3 separate regions of the Homo sapiens genome follow, and all the other regions are linked to region 2. The links are contacts of gene promoters, found by promoter capture Hi-C in blood cells and fetal thymus (Javierre and others, 2016). All regions are on one chromosome and are shown on one strand. The core of a region is centred on a gene start or on the middle of the fragment in contact, and the rest is flanking DNA. Distances in the headings are between cores, read along the strand shown. Region 1 has its middle 21 kb from the start of SPAM1. Region 2 holds the start of ASB15-AS1 (ASB15 antisense RNA 1). Region 3 has its middle 38 kb from the start of HYAL4.

Region 1 (4,737 bases), core at 1,314-3,813, 280 kb after region 2:
TTCTACTATGATTTATCTTTTGTAGAAATGGGAAACTAGAGTGAGAAAAATTATGTTTCAAAATAAAACTATAAGGCCAAGGTGAGTGGACCACCTGAGGTCAGGAGTTTGAGACCAGCCTGGCCAACATGGTGAAACCCCGCCTCTACTAATAATGCAAAAATTAGCTGGGCGTGGTGGTGGGTGCCTGTAATTCCAGCTACTGGAGAGGCTGAGGCAGGAGAATCACTTGAACCATGGAGACAGAGGTTGCAGTGAGCCGAGATCGTGCCATTGTACTCCAGCCTGGGTGACAAGAGCAAAACTCCATCTCAAAATAAATAAATAAATAAAAGAAACTATCATACACCTGTTATTAGCTTCTATCCCCATCTGTAATTTGTAAGTTTTTATTATTTACCTACAGTCTGGTCTAAATTTTAGATTTTTACTTCTTTCGTATATTTGGTTTTGACTCTCCAGACCTACATTTCCAATTTTTCTTCCACATTTCTGACCTAAAATCACTAGAAATTTAAAAATGTGTTTTTGTTATAGCCCTACAAACTAAAGCTGCACAACTTGATATGAACTTTGGGAGAAATCACTCTAGTAACCTATATAGACAGATGTCCTTCATGCCTATAAAATAGGGACTCCTAAAGAATTTCACTGACACACCTGATCCAAACTACAATTTAAATAACTCTGCCAGATTGCAACTTTAACTAAAAATGCTTCTGATTAAAAAAAAAAACTAGCTCATAAACCACTCCAGACAACTATCTTTATCTTTTGCATCCATAAAAATGTCTCTGAACTTAATACTTGTTTGCCTACACAATATAGAGGCCTTACTTTAATAGAAACCTACCTATAACATCATCATCTAAAATGAGACACAGCTGTTTAAGAAAATTATTCTCAGAACTAAGAGACTGATTCAAGATCTCAGATCATGTAGTTCAATTTGTTCTTTCAACTGGTTCTATATTGTCTCCCGTGTGCTAGGGTGCTTTTGCATTGCTTTAAAGGAATATCTGAGATTGGGTAATTTATAAAGAAAAGAGGTTTATTTGGCCAACAGTGTTGCAGGCTGTACATGGCACTGGCATCTCCTTGGCTTCTGGGGAGGCCTTAGGGAGTTTTTACTTATGGCAGAAGGTGAAGCAGGAGCAGGCACATCACAGGGCAAGAGAAGGAGCAAGAGAGTAAGGGGGAAGATGCCACACTCTTTTAAACATCCAGATCTCATGAGAACTCACTCAGTAGTGCAAGGACAGAACCAAGAGGATGGTGCCAAGCTAATAATGAGAAATCTGCCCCAGTGATCCAATCACTTCCCAAAAGGCCCCACCTCCAACATTGGTGATTATAATTCAATATGAGATTTAGAAAGGATAACATCCAAACTATATCATTCTGCCCTAGGCCCTCAAATCTCAAGTCTTTATGACATTTCAAAATACAATCATTCCTTCTCAATAGCCCTCCAAAGTCTTAACTCATCCCCGCATTAACTCAAAAGTCTGAAGTCCAAAATCTCATCTGAGACTCAAGGCATGTTCCTTCCACCTATGCATCTGTAAATAAAACAAACAAACAAACAAAAAACGAGTATTTTACTTTCAAGATACAATGGCGATATGGGCATTGGGTAAACATTACCATTCTAAAAGGAAGAAATTGGCCAAAAGAAAGGAGCTACAGGCTTCACAGAAGTCTGAAACCCAGCAGAGCAATCATTAAATCTTAAAGCTCCAAAATAGCCTTCTATGACTCCATGTCTCACATCCAGTGCACAGTGGTGCAAGAGGTGGGCTCCCAATGCCTTGGGCAGCTCTACTTCTTGGCTTTTCTAGGCTCAGGATGCAAGCTGCTGTTGGATCTATTATTCTAGGGTCTGGAAGGTGACAGCCCACCTCCCATAGTTCCACTAGCCAGTGCCCCATTGGGGACTCTGTGTGGGGGCTGCAACCCTATCTTTCCCCTTGGCACCACCCTTGTAGAGTATTTCTATGAAGGCTATGCCCCTGCAACAGGTTTCTTCCTGGAAACCCAGGTTTGTTTTTTTTTTTACATCCTCTGAAATCTATGTGGAGGCTGCCAATGCTCCTTCACTCTTGTATTCTGAGTTCCTATTAACATCATATGAAAACTGCCAAGGCTGACAGCTTGCACCTTCCAGAGCTGTGGTCCATGCTATACCTGGGGCCTTTTGACCCAAGGCTTCAGGATGCAAGAAGCAGCCTGCTGTGGTGGTGCAGGGTGGTAGTACCCCAGGGCCAGCCCACAAAACCATTCAGTCCTCCTAAGCCTCTGAGACAGTGATGGGAGGGGCTGCCTAGAAAATCTCTGAAATACTTTCAAGGCCTTTTCCCATTGTCTTGTCTGTTAACACTTGGCTTCTTTTAGTCACGCAAATCTCTAGCAACTGGTTGCTCCAAAGCTTGCCTGATTTCCTCTCCTGTTAATGCTTTTTGTTTTACTCTGCCACATGGCCAGCCAGCAAATTTTCCAAACTTTTACACTCTGCTTCCCCTTTAAATATAAATTCAAACTTTTAGGCATTTCTTTGCTCCTGCATCTGAGCATATGTTGTTAGAAGTAGGTCATATCTTGAATGCTTTTCTGTTTAGAAATTTCTTCCACCAGATACCCTAAGTCATCATTCTTAAGTTCAAACTTCTACAGATCCCTAGGCATGAGTAGAATGCAGCAAAGCTTTTTGCTAAGACATACCATAGCTGACCTTTGCTCCATTTCCCAGTAAGTTCCTTATTTTCATCTGAGACCTTGTCAGCCTGGACTTCACTGTCCATATCAGCATCAGCATTTTGGTCAAAACCATTTAACCAGTCTCTAAGAAGTTCCAAACTTTCCATCATGTTCCTGTCTTCTCTGAGCTCTCCAAACTCTGCCAACCACTGTTTATTACCCAGTTCTAAAGATGCTTCCATATTTTTAGGTATGTTTGTAGCAGTTCCCCACTCCTCAGTACCAAATTTCTGTGATAGGCTGTATTAGTCCATTCTCCCATTGCTATAAAGAAATACCTGAGACTAGGTAATTTATAAAGAAAAATAGGTTTAATCAGCTCACAGTTCCACAGGCTGTACAGGAAACATAATGCTGGCATCTGTTTGGCTTCTGAGGAAGCTTCAGGAAACTTACAATAATGATGAAAGGTGAAAAGGAGCCCACACTTCACATGGCCAGAGCAGGAGGAAGAGAAAGGTAGGGAGATGCCACACACTTTTAAACAACCAGATTTCATGAGAACTCCATCATGAGAATAGCACCAAAGGGATGGTGCTAAACCACTCATGAAGGATGCACCCCCATGATCTAATCAACTCCCACCAGGTTCCACCTCCAACATTGGGGATTACAATTTCACATGAGATTTGGGTGGAGACACAGATCCAAACCATATCATTCCACCTTGGTTGCTGCCAAATCTCATGTCCTTTTCACTTCGTAAAATCCCAACATCCCCCAAAGTCATAACTCATTCCAGCATTAATTCAAAAGTCCAAAGTCCAAAGTCTCATCTGAGACAAAGCTAGTCCCTTCTGCTGATGAGCCAGTAAGATAAAAAACAAGTTAGTTACACCCAAGATACAATGGGGGTATAGGCATTGGGAAAATAATCTCATTCCAAAAGGGAGAAATTGGCCAAACAAAGGGGGCTGCAGATCTCATGCAAGTCCAAAATCCAGCAGGGCAGTCATTAAATCTTAAAGGTTCAAAGTAATTTCCTTTGACTGCACATCCCATATTCAGGACACACAGATGCAAGGGGTGGGCTCCCAAGGTCTTGGGCAGCTCTGCCCCTGTGGCTTTGTAGGGTTTAGCTCCCATGGTTGCTCTCAAAGGCTAGTGTTGAGTGCCTGTGGCTTTTCTGGGCACATGGTGCAAGCTGCCAGTGGATCTACCATTCTGGGGTCTGGAGGCTGTGGTGGCCCTCTTCTCACAGCTCCAACCGCTCATTTCCCCTCCACACAACCTAGTAGAGGTTCTTCCTAAGGGCTCCATCCCTGCAGCAGGCTTCTGTCTTAACACCCAGGCTTTTTTATACATCCTCTGAAATGTAGGCAGTAGCTCCCAAGCCTCAACTTTTGCACTCTGTGTACCCACAGGCTTAACACCATGTGGAAGCTGCCAAAGTTTATGGCTTTCACCCTCTGAAGAAGTGGCCCAACTGTACCTGAACCTCTTTGAGCCATGGCTGGAACTGGAGCAGCCAGGATGCAGAGTGGTCTCCTGAGCCTGCACAGGGTAGGTAGTGGGGCCTTAGGCTTGGCCCACAAAACCATTCTTCCCTCCTAGGCCTCTGGGCCTGTGATAGCAGTGGCTACCTCAAAATTCTCTGAGATGCCTTCCAGGTCTTCTCCCCATTGTCTTGGCAATTAGCACTTGCCTTCCTTTTAGTTATGCAAATTTCTACAGCCTGCTTGACTTCCTTCCCTTAAAATGGGCTTTTCTTTTCTACCACCTGGCCAGGCTGCAAATTTTCCAAACTTTTACACTCTGTTTCTATTTTAAATATAACTTCCAGTTTCAGGTTATTTCTTTGCTCACACATATGAGCATATGTTGTTAGAAGCAGCATCTTGAATGCTTTGCTACTTAAAAATTTTTTCTGTCAGATTCCCTAAATCATCACTGTCAAGTTCAAAGTTTCACAGATCCCTACAGCAGGGGCACAATGCCACCATGTTCTTTGCTAACACATAGCAAAAATAATCTTTGCTC
Region 2 (4,564 bases), core at 1,048-3,547:
ACATTTTTTTTCTAATTATAAAAACTGCCATCAGAGCAAGAAGATCCATGAGGACACATTTCTCTTAGTTTGTTTAGCTTACTTGATGTTTGCTCTGCAATAACACCAGCTAGCATGAGGTAATTCACTGTAATTAGAGCTGCCAGTGACAGTTGGGCAATTCAGAGAGAGGCATTTGTCAACAGGTTCTACTTTAGACAAGGAGAGGGAGAAAAACGGGCATCTCCTGCAGGGATGGCTTGCCTGCTCCCAAATGAAGTAGGCAAAGTTCGTCTTCATCCTCCCATTACCACATTGGGAGCTGCTTTCCTTGCCTTGGCTTTAGATCCTTTCTGCGTTCTGCCTCCTGGTTACCCCAGAATGTTCCATGTGGCCTCATATCTTCTTCTACGTTTCCCAGTACAGGCCCAGACTTTGAGTCTCTCTTTAAATAGAAGGCAGCATAGGCTTCTTCTCTAGGCCATAAACTCTACGAGTGAGATCCAAATCTGTCTCTTCTTCCTGTTGTCCACAGTGCATAACACAGAGCCTTTAGTGGAGCTAGCCGTATTAACTGAATAGGAAATGAGTGAGTGAATGAATGAATGAGTGAATGTAACTGTGTACATCTCCATTTGTAGGGGCAGCACTCATCCTAATCTGTATTTTAATAAGATTTTACTTAAAAGGAAAAAAAAGTTACATTTTTAGAAGTGTATACATCTAAATGGGGACAATCTCTTAATAATCCAAAAGGGGAAAACCTTGTAACAGTATAATTTCAGCCATTAGAGATGAGCAGAGAGGGAGAGGGACAACTGATTTGGTGAACCTCCTTAATTGTACTACATTAACGGTCACTTACTTCACTCACTGGGAACAGTTGGCCTATGTAGATTCTAAACAATCTAATTGATAATCACCCATTAAAAATGTAAGAAAGAGGGCCGGGCGTGGTAGCTCACACCTGTAATCCAAGCACTTTAGGAGGCCAAGGCGGGCAGATCACGAGGTCAGGAGTTTGAGACCAGCCTGACCAACACGGTGAAACCCTGTCTCTACTAAAAATACAAAAATTAGCCAGACTTGGTGGTATGCGCCTGTAATTCCAGCTACTCAGGAGGCTGAGGCAGGAGAATTGCTTGAACCCAGGAGGTGGAGGTTGCAGTGAGCTGAGATTGTGCCATCGCACTCCAGCCTGAGCGACAGAGCGAGACTCTGTCTCAAAAAAAAAAAAAGAAAAGAAAAGAAGAAAGAAAGAATGGAAGGAAGGAAGGAAGGAAGAAAGAAAGAAAAGAAAGAAAGAAAGAAAGAAAGAAAGAAAGAAAGAAAGAAAGAAAGAAAGAAAGAAAGAAAGAGAAAGGAAAGAAAATACATATATAAGAAAGAGAAGTTCATTCAATACTTGCTGCTATCTTTTGCGGCAAGGGGAAAAAACCCTGTTTCTATAGGGGAAACCTGATGAACATGATTTACATATGAGGTTCCTGGGTCCTAGGAGTGATATAATAATAATAGCCAGTTACTGAGCTCCTGTTATGTACTAGGTACTACACTGAGAATTTTACATACATTATTTAATTTGTACAACCCAACAACAAGTGTTATTTCCATTTTGTTGGTGAAGAAATTAAAATTTGGAAAGAGGGCACACAGCATCCTATCCTAGTGATACGTGTTATTTTCTGTGAAACTCTTACCCCTCCTCCAGGTCTTAAAGAAAAGGTAGTGTCATCTTGTAAACTTATATTTCACAAATATAAACTTGGGTATGAGAAACAGAAGGGATATGAGAAATACATTATTTTCCTTGTAGAAAAAAAGTTACTAGCTAGTATCTATTTCAATATTAAATTTAGTAATTAGTTTAATACCACCTAAGGTATTTGTGTTAATATACTTACTGTTGTTTTTAACAATCATTTTCAAGCTGTGAAAAAGGGCTCCTATGACATGGTGTCGACTCTGATCAAACATAACACTAGCCTAGACCAGCCCTGTGTCAAGCGATGGTCAGCAATGCATGAAGCAGCCAAGCAAGGCCGAAAAGATATCGTAGCTCTGCTGCTGAAACATGGAGGCAATGTCCACCTGAGAGATGGATTTGGAGTCACACCACTAGGCGTCGCTGCCGAGTATGGTCACTGTGACGTGTTAGAACATCTAATCCACAAAGGTATGTGAAAAGGAGTTACACTTCCTGACTTTTGTCCTGCCTCTCGAACTCTCCTTTTCTCCATTCATCACTCTTCCTCACCTGAATGTAACTAGGGGAGCTCCTCTTCCTCTGCTGAATGGAACTTGGCATCAGGTTTTCCCACCTGGTCCCTCAGTAGACCCTTATTCTACAACTCAGCTAAGCCCTATACATTGTGACCTACGAATTTACAAGCCCAGTCCTGATTGCTCTCTCGAGAGACAGTTCAATCTGCACATAGATGGCCCATCAGGGCCTCATGCTCATCTTCTCCTTAACTGAATTCCTCCTGTTTTTCTACTCTTCTAATGTAATAATTTCTCTCAACAGGATTGAAAGATCGTATTTATCTCTAATTCCTCCATCACCTGCTTTCCTAAATCCAATCAGTTGCAAATTCTTGTAGCGTTTCTCTTGTCCTCTCATTGCAATCCATCTGCCATCCTGATCAGGTCCCTCAATTCTCCCTGGACCAGTGCAAATAGTTTCTAACCATTTTCTGGGTTTCTAGTCTCCCATCAGAGAATCACAGTACATACTGCAACTTGGCTCCTCTCCCTATAGGGCAGCTACAATAGTGTCAACTATCCAAAAAACAATCCCTATTGCATCATCTCAAATTGTTTTACCACGTTTATCCCTCACTGCTCCCATCTTGTATCCTACACTCCAGTCAAAATATACTAGCAGTATTCCCAAACGTACCTTGCAGGGTTTGGGTCAGGTCCTTGCCTTTATCTCTTCAGCACAATTCAAAGTCAATCTCTTGAGACACCTCCTCCCTAAATCCTTTCCTAATTCTTTCCAACAGATTGTGACACTGCCCTTTCTTAAACCCTCCAGGTGTTTTATACAACTACAGAACCATGAGTTAAGGAGACCTGACTCCTAAACTGGTTGAGCCACTACTCACTGTGAGACCCTAGCCTTATTCCTTAAATATCTGGTCCTCAGCGTCCTCATCTGCAAATGACCTCTAGAACCGCATGATCCCCAGTGATTCCCTGTAGGAAAAAGACTAACATTTTTGAGGTGTCCCAATACAACCACGTTTAATTTTCAAATAAGCCCTGTGAAGTAAGCTGTATTAATCATTCACAGATGTGGAGATGGAGGTGCACGGAAGTAAACGGCTTGCCCCCAGCTCTCACCATAAGCAGCAGAGCCACAGTCCCCTACATCATGTCTCCTTGTCTTAATGTCAGTGTCACTGGAATATCATACAGTTTGTGCTGTCTGATATTTTGTTTCATTTCCCCTCTAAGCTCCTTAGAGTAGTCACACTTATTCTTCTTAGGGTCACACACACTGATTGCACATAGAGGGCAATAAAGTATTTGTTAATACTTTATTAACTGTAAGTATTTGTTAAGTTAAAATAGAGGGGGCCGGGCACCATGGCTCATGCCTGTAATCCCAGCATTTTGGAAGGCCAAGGTGGGTAGATTACTTAAGGCCTAGAGTTCAAGACCAGCCTGGCCAACATGGCGAAACCCTGTGGTGGCACATGCCTGCAATCCCAGCTACTCAGGAGACTGAGGCAGAAGAACTGCTTAAACCCAGGAGGCGGAGGCTGCAGTGAGCTGAGATCACACCACCGCACTCCAGCCTGGTCGACAGAGTGAGATTCTGTCAACATAAATAAATAAATAAATAAATAAAATAAGAAACTACTGTCTTTAAATTAAAAAGTCTAATGAGCCTTTTTCAGAAGAATTTGCCTGTCATGAAAATTGACTTAGTTTCTCTCATGATTTTTGGCCCAAAGATTTTAATAAAACAAACCATGCTGCATGCATGACTGTTTATTGAAAGTATAGAAAACATGGAGGCCCTTAATTCTATACTTTTTAAGTACTAACCAGAAAGGAACACAACAGGTTTTGTGGGGGTTTTTTGTTTGTTTGTTTCTTTGTTTTTGAGATGGAGTCTCACTCTGTTGCCCATTCTGGAGTGCAGTGGAGTGATCTCGGCTCATCACAACCTCCACCTCCCAGGTTCAAATGATTCTCCTGCTTCAGACTCCTGGGTAGCTGGGACTACAGGTGCACGCCACCGTGCCCAGCTAATTTTTGTATTTTTAGTTGAGACAGGGTTTCACCATGTTAGCCAGGCTGATCTCGAACTCCTGACCTCATGATCCGCCCGCCTCAGCCTCCAGTGCTGGGATTACAGGTGTGAGCCACCATGCCCAGCCCCACAACAGGCTGTTTTTAAGGGGATTGTTTAAACAATACCATCCAGTTATCATTATGCCACGTTTTATACTGCCAGGTGGTGATGTGCTTGCTTTGGCGGATGATGGGGCGTCGGTGCTGTTTGAGGCAGCAGGAGGTGGCAATCCCGACTGCATTTCCCTCCTGCTGGAATATGGAGGAAGCGGAAATG
Region 3 (4,587 bases), core at 2,019-4,518, 260 kb after region 2:
CCTTTACTTTTGAAACTTCAACTAATTTTCTTTCCATCAGATCTCCAGCAGAAACTATAGAAGACTTATTTGTACTTTTTAAAAACCAATTTACAAAGATATATAATTCACAAGTATAGTGATTCTGGTATCAGGCAGTCAGTGCTTTCTTTGACCCCTTGGAAGAAAAACTGTTAAATTAACTGGTCTACTAGCAATGTACCCATCTGACATACTCTAAGTATCTAAATTTTGTTTATTCATAAAGAAACCAGGACTCCTTAGGAAAATGTCTGATTCCAGGCCTATCTAAGACAGGAATTGCTCTAGATGAGTCTGGAATCTCTTCTTATAACATAAAGCAAGGAAGCTATCAAGGATTACTAGAATTGTATCAAAAGCACCCTTGAGTCAACTTAAAAGAGCCTCCCACTGTCAAACATGTGAAATTTGAAAATCACTGAAGAAATACTAACTGCAATGGGTTGAAATACATCAGATATATTTAAATCCATGAAGTCAAAATGATACTAAAACAAACCCAAAAATCTTTCATTGGCCACTTTTGAACAATATTAAGGAATCAACTCATTACTCTGAAAACTGATAATCAATCATTTATTCTGCATTTCCTACATAATCTGTACTTGAGGGTAACCAAATAGTGAAGGAGAGTAATTTCTTTTTATTCAAGCCAATAAACGGGGAAAGTATGATGTAATTAGAATAGAACAATTTTGTAACTTCTAATTAATGGATAGAGGCATTGACCCTCAATAGCTGCTAAAATCACAAAAAAGAGTCAACCAGACAATTATATACCACCTAGTTGAAGTATGAAACATCAACTAAGAATAATCCTTCCAGAAATCAAGCTGAAATTTGATCAGGCCTTTAAAATTTAGCTACTTCCGATGTTTTCAGCATGGTTTGGGAAAAAAAAATCTATCTACTAACTCAAGAAACATAAAGAATAAGGGAAAATGCTAAACAAGAAGTTAGAGATGACATCATCAAAATTTAGATCCTAGGGAATTCTACAGGACAAATAACTTGAATTTATCAACAAATAAGAAAAAAATGGCGAAGGAATCCATATGTATATCAACATGGAGCTTGCTAAATTATAGTACATCTGCATATTGGGGAAGTATTCAATTTTACAAAGAAATGAGGAATAACATCTCTATGCTAATCTCAAAAGATATCTAAAAATTATTTTGTTTAGACTTTATTTTGACTGCCATCTAATCATATTGAGAAAAACTCATGATCTCAGATATTAGAAATATATTTTTGGTCACATTCTAGAAAGACTTCCTGGAGACAGCTAAACTAAAGTTTCTTAAGCATGTACTGGGCCTGAAATTCTAAGGGTCTTAAGAATGTACTGGGTTTGAAATTCTATTACAGATAAAAAGCCATAAATGATTCAAGGAAATGATAATTTCATCAATAAAAGGAAACCAGGAGAAGCCATTTGAAGCCACACACAACAAATATAAAATCATATATGGTGCTGTTATTGTTTTTGAGATTTTGCTTATTCTAAACCTTGAACAGCAGGTCTGTTACAATATTATAATTATAAACTTATATGATAAAGATTTAATAATTGGAAAAATTAATTTTGTGCCAAAATGAATGTTAGTATTATGGTTTTCATTCCTACCAGAGAACTAAGTACATACAGACACTCTTACTTTTGTATTTAATGCTGATCTTAAGAACTTGGAAAAATCTGAATGTTACTGAAAATTCATATATGAACTGGACACTTTGTTCCCTCCTAAGGGCCCAGGAGCTATCAATTTTTTATTTCTAGTATCACTTCAATTGTACAAACTTAAAATGGGAGACTTTGTTCTCTGTTTCTGGAAAATGAAAGTTCTTGGGTTATCACTGGGACTACTTATTGCATTCGGCATTCTCTTCCACTAAGATACCTAGCATAGTGGTTAATTGTATGTGTCAACTTGACTGAGCCATAGACTGTGTTTATTCTGAGCGTGTCTGTGAGGGCGTTTTGGAATGAGGTTAACATTTACACGAGAAGACTGAGTAAAGCAGATTGTCCTCCCCAGTGTGGTGGGCCTCATCCAATCTGTTGAAGGCCTGAACAAAGGCAGTGTAAGGGAGACTTAAGCTCTGTGTTTGAGCTGAGACATTGGTCTTTTCCTGTCTTCAGACTCAGACACAGACTGAAGTTATGCCATCAGCCCACCTAATCCTCAGTCCTGTATCATTGAGTCTCCTGAACCTCCAGCTTTCCAACTACAGATCTTGGAACTTCTCAGCCTCCATAACTGTGAACCCATTTATTAGAGTAAATCTCTCTCTCTCTTTCTCTCTGATAAACACACACACACACACACACACACACACACACACACACACACACACTATTGGTTCTGTTTCTCGGGAGAATGCAGACTAATACACCAAGAAAAGTAATTTTCTGCTGTCAAATTTATTGCTATCCACAAAAGACAACAAGTGTTGCCAAGAATGTGGAGAAATTGGGGCCCTTGCTTATTGTTGGTGAGAATGAAAAATGAGGCAGCCACTAGGGTAAACAGTATGGAAGTTCCTAAAAAAAATTAAAAATAGAACTACCATATGATCTAGCAATCCCTCTTCCGAGTATTTTCCTAAAAGAATTGAAATCAGGATCTCAAAGAGATATAAGCCTCCCTGTGTTAACTGAAGTACTATTTACAATAGACAATATGTAGAGATAACCTAAAACTGTATCAACTTCTCATTACTCAGAATATGTACTTTCCAAAATGATTTATAAATATGACATTCATTATTGAAATATGTGCAGGAGTTAGAAAAACTGGATAATTGAGTTGAGCACATTATCAAGCATTTACTTTGTTTCTTGATGTAAGAGATACTTCTGATAGTTCTGATCAACAACATGTGTGTTTTTTTTAAGATATAAAACTTTGTCTAATGGCACCACATCAGCAGAGACTTTCTGCTTCTATTTTTTCCTAATGTTATGATTGTTAACTAGCATTTACCATCTAATAAGCTATTAATGTGTCACTGATTCGCACAGAAAAACCAGACTCATTTATTACTAAAACGATTGTAATCAGTATACCAAAATAACTGACTTCATTGCTTTCTATATTCAAGATCAAAGTGTTGTCTTATTTTTGAGTTTTCTTTGTGGAACCAAAATGCTAATTTATTCCTTATAAAGGCTTCAGTGTCAAAGGAGATTGCGTGTTTGAATGAAAATAGACGTATACTTCCTTTTAAGGAACTAAATAATGAAAAAGTTGAATAAGACCACTCTAGAGAAATTAATACTATAAATTTTGCTATACCCTCATAGGCCAAAGTCCTCAAAAATAGTTAATCTATCAGAAAGATATAACAATTCTAAGCATATGTACACTTAATATCAGATAACCAGAATATATGAAGCAATACTGACAGAAATGAAGGGAGATATATACAATTCAACAATCAAACAATCATAGATGGAGACTTAAATAATGAATAGAATGGCTAGGCAGAAGATAACTAGAAAACAAAATACTTCAACATTATAAACAAACTTGATGTAACAGCCATCTATAGAAAATTCCACCCAAATAAAAAAAGAATATGCGTTCTTCTCAAGTACACATAGAACATTCTCAAAAACAAACCGAATACTAGACCATAAAACAAATCTCAATAAATGTAAAAGTATAGAAGTAATTAAAGTATGTTCTCCAGTCACAATGGAATGATGTTAGAAATAAGTAGCATAAATTAATTTGGGAAACTCACAAATATGTGAAAATTGAACAACACACTCCTAAATAATCAGTGGGTTAAAGACATATCCCAAGAGAAATTGGAAAATACTTCAAGACAAATAAAAATCAAGACACAACATATGAAAACTTGTGTAATGCTGCTTAAGTAGTGCTGAGAGGAAAATTTGTAACTATAAATATCCATATTTTATAAACAAGATCTCAAATGAATAACCTAACCTTCCACTATAAGACAATGGAAAAAGGAGAGTAAGCAAAACTTAAAGCAAGTATTAATAAAAGGAAAAAAAATAAAGATCAGAGTGGAACTTAATGAAATAGAGAATAAAAAACCAGTAGAGAAAATCAAGGAAAACAAAAGCTAGTTCTTTGAAAAGCTAAAACAGAGAAACCTTTAACCAGATTGACATGGGAAAAAGAAGACTCAAATTATAAGAATTAGAAATGAAAGAAGGGCCAGCACAGTGGCTTATGCCTGTAATTCCAGAATTTTGGAAGGCTGAGGTGTGAGGATCACTTGAGCTCAGGAGTTCAAGATGAACCTGGGTAACATAGGGAGATCCCGTCTCTACAAAAAATAAAAAAATTAACCAGGCATGGTATGCACATCTGTGGTCTCAGCTACTTAGGAGGTAGAGGTGGGAGGATTGATTGCTTGAGCCTGGGAGGTTAGGCTGCAGTGAACCATGATCACACCACTGCACTCCAGTCTGGGTGAAAGAGTGAGACCCTGTTTCAGAAAAAAAAAAAAAGAAAGAAAAGAAAAAGAAAATAAATGAAGGAGAAGATATTACCACTTCTCTTACAGAAAAATAAAGAATTA

Evidence for each region. The method cuts DNA at HindIII sites, captures the fragments that hold promoters and counts their contacts. A CHiCAGO score of 5 or more calls a contact.
Region 1: a fragment that was not itself captured here is called in contact with the fragment with the promoter of ASB15-AS1 in region 2 in 1 of 17 cell types (fetal thymus); the score reaches 5.7 in fetal thymus.
Region 3: a fragment that was not itself captured here is called in contact with the fragment with the promoter of ASB15-AS1 in region 2 in 3 of 17 cell types (M2 macrophages, fetal thymus and naive CD8 T cells); the score reaches 5.3 in M2 macrophages.

The regions. Positions count from the first base shown.
Region 1 is chr7:123,901,620-123,906,356 of GRCh38, forward strand. No RefSeq gene overlaps it. Among named protein-coding and RNA genes, the nearest start is that of SPAM1, 21 kb to the right of the region's middle. The HindIII fragment of the contact is 275 bases long and covers 2,427-2,701 here.
Region 2 is chr7:123,622,660-123,627,223 of GRCh38, forward strand. ASB15-AS1 (ASB15 antisense RNA 1) reads right to left here and starts at 2,298. Exons shown (of 5, transcript NR_111922.1): 1 at 2,237-2,298; 2 at 315-501. ASB15 (ankyrin repeat and SOCS box containing 15) reads left to right here. Exons shown (of 12, transcript NM_001290258.2): 8 at 1,910-2,155; 9 at 4,451-4,564. The HindIII fragment of the contact is 15,446 bases long and covers 1-4,564 here.
Region 3 is chr7:123,880,526-123,885,112 of GRCh38, forward strand. No RefSeq gene overlaps it. Among named protein-coding and RNA genes, the nearest start is that of HYAL4, 38 kb to the left of the region's middle. The HindIII fragment of the contact is 9,096 bases long and covers 1-4,587 here.